Linked DNA regions of Homo sapiens: region 1 is linked to region 2. The links are contacts of gene promoters, found by promoter capture Hi-C in human tissues and cell types (Jung and others, 2019). All regions are on one chromosome and are shown on one strand. Each heading gives the region's core, a stretch centred on a gene start or on the middle of the fragment in contact. The rest is flanking DNA. Distances are from core to core; before and after follow the strand shown.

Region 1 (3,077 bases), core at 445-2,944, 160 kb after region 2:
GAGAGAGAGAGAGATACAAATGTCTATGTTGCCAAAATGGCCTTAAGATAGTTTTCAAATATAACACCCCAAATATCTCAAATATTACAGTTATTATAAAAGTTGTTGAGTATACATGAAAGATTGAAAATAGAAAATTAAAAATTCTCATGTCCGTTAAAGCTGCTAATACAGATTCGATTTGATTTTCTAAATTTCAAAAGTCATGTTTCTTATTTTCTGGTTTTCTCTCTACTGAAACTTTAGAGAAATATCATGAAATGTTTTGTTAAACAAATCATTTGGCATTCTGTAAACTGAAAAACCCAGTTAAACTGAATTTAAACATTTTGAAACCTTATTTATGTCAAACTGATTTACCACTGAGGCTTTATGTGTTCTTATCTCTCAGATCTTCTCCAGCAAGGCAAGTCCTTTGATTTAAGCCTGAGAGTTGTAAACGTAGTCATAAGATTTCTTTTAAAAGTGCTTCCAAAACATTGTTAATCTTAAAATATACTCTTCACGTAGTGTGGCTTCCATATTCAAATGCTAACCAAAGAGACTGCTTTATGCTAGAAGCTCTTGGCTTGAAACTCTACTTAGTAACTTGGATTACAAATAAGTAATTGTGTGTTCAATTATACACACTTAGAGAAAAGGTAGAGGCAGCAATAATTATCTACATGAAATTAGACCTAAATTTTACAGGGAAACACTGCTAGTTTCCTGTGAAAATCCACTTCTAAAACAGATATAACAACAGCATGCAAACCCATACACTTAAATGAATATCCACTGAAATGAATATCCACTGACAGAACACGTTCCCAATTTAGTTTTAAAGGAATCATGGGAAACACTTTATAGGTTCATGCATGAAGGCAATAGATAGGGCAGTTTATTATTTTGAAGCAGGTAGCACATAACCTGAAACTGCAGTTTTCATGATTTCAGAAGAGACAAAGTATACCCTATGTGTAGCTCAGGGTGACTTGGAATGAAGCCAAAATACACAGCACTAGAGTTCTCAGGGTTAAATCATCATATACTATCAATCTGAACAACAGTGATTTAAGTCATTCGCCCTGTAAGCAACTTAGAAAGAAACTCAAGTAAAGCTGGTTAGAACAAGTCCAACATTGTTTTTAGGAAAGTAAAAATGTGGGAATTTAGTATTTTAGAAAAACTCTGAAGTATACATCTAAACACATTCAGTGTCTAATCTTTAATAATAAATAATAATAAAGTCAGATCTTTAATAATGGCTCATTTAGGTGCTTTAGAAGGTTTTCTGCCACATATTTAAAATACTTATTTCTAACCTAGCAAAAAGCAACATAACAAACAATTGAAGTTAGTCAACCCTTAACTCCAAAATAAGCTGAATGCTAAAAACATAATTTAGTATTTTTAAAATACTTTATACATTTGAATTTATATTTTAAAAAAACTCAGTCTTGTTTAGAAAGTTGAAGAAGTCTTGGCTTAATGACTATTTTTTTAAGTCAGTTAATAGGGAAGCAACTGGAACACACTACAAACATCTGGTGGTAATCAAATAAATGTACCTTTTTAAAATACTTGTACCCATAGCTCTGAGGGATTTTGTTGTTCATCAGCGGAAACCCTTTTTTAACAACTACATTTGATTCCCCACAATCATTCATGCTCGCAAACATCCAAACCAAATGTGAATAAATATTTTCATCCTGTATTAGCAATATTATAAAGGCCTCGGCGTGATAATGAAGTGAGAAACATTTACTGGCATACCAGAGTGGTGTAAAAATAGTAGTAACCTTTGACAACAAAAAGCTTAGTCAATTCCCAGTGACAGTTGCTTTCTGCATCAAAGATAAAATCAACATTACCTTAGAAATCATAAGATGCTACAACCTAAAATGGTATTTACCTTGAAACGTATAAAACAGAAAGCACTTTTAGTGAGAAGAATTTAATCATTTTTGCATGCATCATGGCATAATATTTGAAACTTCAGGCATATTGCTAAAACTGCACCTCTGAAGGAGTTACATGTTTTGTTGAAATGTACGGTATTTAATTAGGTTAAATTAATTAACTATTAGGTAGTACCAATTACCATTTATCTTAATTCTTTGGAAAAAATAAACATTGTAATAAAACAATTAGAGGGATGATTACACAAATTCATATCAGTCCCTTCAAAACTGACTACTTGTTCATAAGATCATAACCCTGGGCTTTGCCCTTTGATAAGTAGGATGGCAATTATCCTAAGATTTTTGTTTGATAACCTCTAAGAATCAGTAAGAAGAAAGTTTTTTCCTTATGCTAACTGAACTGCAAAGCAGATAAGAAATGCACTTCATTGTTACATTGTTTAAAACCTTAATTCATCATCCCTAAAAATGGGAAAAAATTCAAAGTTAATTTACTGGAACACAATCAAGTGTCCTATAATGCTAAGAAATAGGTATTATACTTCTACACTTGGCTTTTTTGATGACTAGCTGTGAATCTGAAAAACTTGTTAAGCCATTTAACTGCCAAATCTTTAACTTCACAAACTACATGATGTAAAAATAGATGAGAATTATATATGTAGTGTGTAAAAATTCTCATAAAAAATGAACTGTGTAAAATGCTGTAAAAATCAAGTTTAAGAAAATGGTTATTTTAATGGAAAAATATATATTGACAGAAATCCTTTTAAAATAATAGAAAGATATCCCGAAAGGCAAAGTGTATATTTTGGCCAAATAAAATACAATTTCAGAGATATATACACATTCAGAAAAAGGTTTAAAGTTTTAATATTGGTATCACAACCGTATTTTCTTTCATGGTACTGTATTTGGTATAAAGAATATAAAGGAATAAATGTCAGTACTCTGAAAACTACAAGTGAATTTAGAGAGATATACCTAGTTAATAGGTCAGAAGGCTTGATAATATTAAGACATCAGTTTTTCTCAAATTGATCTATAATTCCACACAACCATATAAAATTCTCAACAGGGGTTTCCTTTTGCTTTTATTTTGTGAAAGGATTTGACAAACATTATAAGATTCTCTTGAAGAATATAAGGGATATAGAATAGACAAAACCTTGA
Region 2 (2,714 bases), core at 182-2,681:
GAAATGAGGGACACGGTCCTGACCGCGCTAGTCAAGGCGATCATGAGGACGCCCAGCCTCAGCCTCAGCACCAGCCATGTCGCGGCGGCCAAGCAGCTGAGCACCACCCCCGCGGCGGGGAGTGAGAGTAAGTGATCCTCCCCGACGCCCAGCCCAATCTGGACGAGCGCTTCCCCCCCGCAGCAGGCGGCCAGCAGCGCGACAGCCAGAGGCAGGCGCACCCCGGCGCGCAGGAGGTACAAGCCCATCCAGAAGAAGGCACACAGGAGACTGAAGAGCAGCGCCGAGGGCTGCAGCCAGGGGCTGAGCCGCGCACCGCCCCCGGGAGCACCTCCCCGAGGCCCCGGGAAGACGCCCCCTTCTGCTCCCGGGGCTGCTTCCTCCTCCTCCGCCGCCGCCGCCTCCTTACACTGCTCCAGGTCACAGCCGACCTCCCCGCGGACCAGCCTCACCAGCAGCGCCAGCAGAAAGGACAGGGAGCCCGCGCACAGCGCGGAGGAAAGTTTCCGAGAGCTCCGGAGCGGCTGCAGCACCAGGTCTCCCCAGCAGCCACGGCAGCCCGAGTCCCGCGGCGATGCGGGGTCCGCACGATGGTGGCAGTCCCGGCCCGCCGTGGGGGCTTGACTCACCCCACTGTGGACGGGCTTGTCCCTGACTCGTGCAGCGTCGCCGGGCACTGCCATGGTATAGGGTGCCCTCTTCACTGAATTCCCAGTGGCCCCCCGACGCCCCCGCCCCGACCCACGCGCGCGCGCGCACACACACACACACACACACGCACGCACGCTCTTCCCAATTCCACCCTCGGAATCCTTCTTCTCCCCAGGCCCACAATCCACTGAAAGTTTCAGCTTTCGAATAACTCCTGGAGAATGCTAGATGCTCCAATGAGACTTCTTCAAGTTAAAGGCTAGCACGCTCAAGTTGAAAACAAGCACGGGCAGAAACGATCAGGATTCCCCTTTTCTCTCTTTGAATATCTTTCACAGATTCTCTGCTCCACCCCCACCCCCGACTTATATCCTCCGGGGTCTCTTCCTACTTCAGGATTTCAAAAATTGCCCAATGCATCCCGCGCGCAGGAGCCGCTGACGCTGGAGGAGCCGGGGGCGCAGGGCGGGCTCCGGGCCATTCCGAGGCGCAGCTCGGCGCTGCGCTGCGCTGCAGCGCGCCGGGCCCGCGGCAGATGGAGGTCTCCCTTCTCCTCCTTCCTGCAGCTCTTTTTCTATCACTCTTTCTTTCTCCTCGGCCGATTCTCCCCGGCACGGCCCCAGGACGCGAATCGCCATTCCCTGGGGCAGAAAGCAAAGCCTCCCCCGCCTCTGTCAATCCAATTCATGGCAAAGGATGGAAAAAAAAAAATGGACAAGGGGCTGAGAAATAAGAAGTTGCTAAGTCCCGTCGGAGAGAGAGCCAGACCGAGAGACTAGCGGCAGCCGCAGAAGGGAGGGAGGGAGAAGGAGCGAGTAAGAGAGGAAGGGAGGGTGAGAAGAAAGGGAGGGTGAGAAGGGAGAAGGAGATTTGCTTTTTTTTTCCCTCCCCACTTCTATTTGATGCAAGGTTGGTGGTGATTTGCAGTTTTGCAAAGGGGAAACGAGTGGCGACGACTGCTTAAAATTGTATAAAACTGGCAACTGGAGTGATCGACAATTCCGCTTTCTTTCTTTAAGGCAACTCCCTAGGAAAGCTTTCTCAGCCGAGCTCCCGCCCCCTCCTGCGGAGGAGGCGCTACCCTCAGCTCGATTGCTCCTTTGCTGGGAAAGCGGCCGGTTCACCCTACAGGCTGGAGCAGGGGCTGCTGAGGCTGATCCACCGCGCAGCCCACCGCAGCCCCGGGGTGTGGGGGGCTGCGGCTAGCCCTGAGGCTGAGCTCCCTAGAACGTTGGAAGGAAAAAAAAAAAAAAAAGATTGTGTTTGCCTACTTGGCAGATGAGAGCCAACATACTTTCTACTGTCCCTGAAAATGACAGCCACTTCTACTGTCTGATTCAAAGATGTTCCCAAGTCAGGTACAACAGCAGTCCAATTTCAGGTGACAGTGTCATCCTTTGGTCGCTCCTGCTGGAAGGTCTGCTTTATGAGAACCCAAGCCTGGCCTGTTGGTTCAAATGATGGAAGAATCAGCCTTACCTAGACCACAATAGTATAAAAAGAAAGGAAGGAGAGGCAGCAGTCATTTAAATCCAGTGCATGAGTATTACACAATAGTTTTTGACTGTGGAAAGTAAAATTACATTGAGATTAAGTGACCGTATCCTCAAAAAAGGTTAACAAAGTTTAAAAGCCCAGATAGTTCATCAAAAAATAAAGAAAAATCTCAAGGGAGAGGTGAGGATAGGTGGGTTAACACTAGGAGAGATCTTAGAAGACTGTCTATGGCTGCAAAATACTACATCTTCGAGCAAAGCATATGAAAAAAATCAGGACCTTAGTTATTAATGAGTAAAGGTTCGTGTACTGCAGCAGTGTGATATTTGAGAAACTAAAAGAAAATTTTCAAGCTAACCTTTTTTTGGCAGATTATGAAAAAGAATTCAGTATCTGTTCAATGGACTTAAACTCTATTGATGTTCCCTGGGATCTAGTTGTCTTTTTAATATGATACTCCACTTTTAACATGGCTATCTTAGATGTCATTTGCCCTCACTAATAATAATCTTAATAATCCAATTTTGTCTTAATTATCTTGACATTCCAGGTTAAAGTGTATTTAC

The links. The method cuts DNA at HindIII sites, captures the fragments that hold promoters and counts their contacts. A contact is called where the count stands out against the background at its distance.
Region 1: a fragment that was not itself captured here is called in contact with the fragment with the promoter of PDE3A in region 2 in 2 of the 25 tissues and cell types used here (H1 embryonic stem cells and bladder).

What each region holds. Positions count from the first base shown.
Region 1 is chr12:20,203,961-20,207,037 of GRCh38, reverse strand. The region is part of intron 1 of LOC105369686 (a long non-coding RNA gene); the gene reads right to left. Among named protein-coding and RNA genes, the nearest start is that of LINC02468, 78 kb to the right of the region's middle. The HindIII fragment of the contact is 8,249 bases long and covers 1-3,077 here.
Region 2 is chr12:20,367,254-20,369,967 of GRCh38, reverse strand. It overlaps PDE3A (phosphodiesterase 3A), which reads right to left and starts at 1,431. Exons shown (of 16, transcript NM_000921.5): 1 at 1-1,431. The coding sequence starts at 683. It overlaps PDE3A-AS1 (PDE3A antisense RNA 1), which reads left to right. Exons shown (of 2, transcript NR_186033.1): 1 at 1-127. RefSeq lists a silencer at 99-393. The HindIII fragment of the contact is 7,833 bases long and covers 1-2,714 here.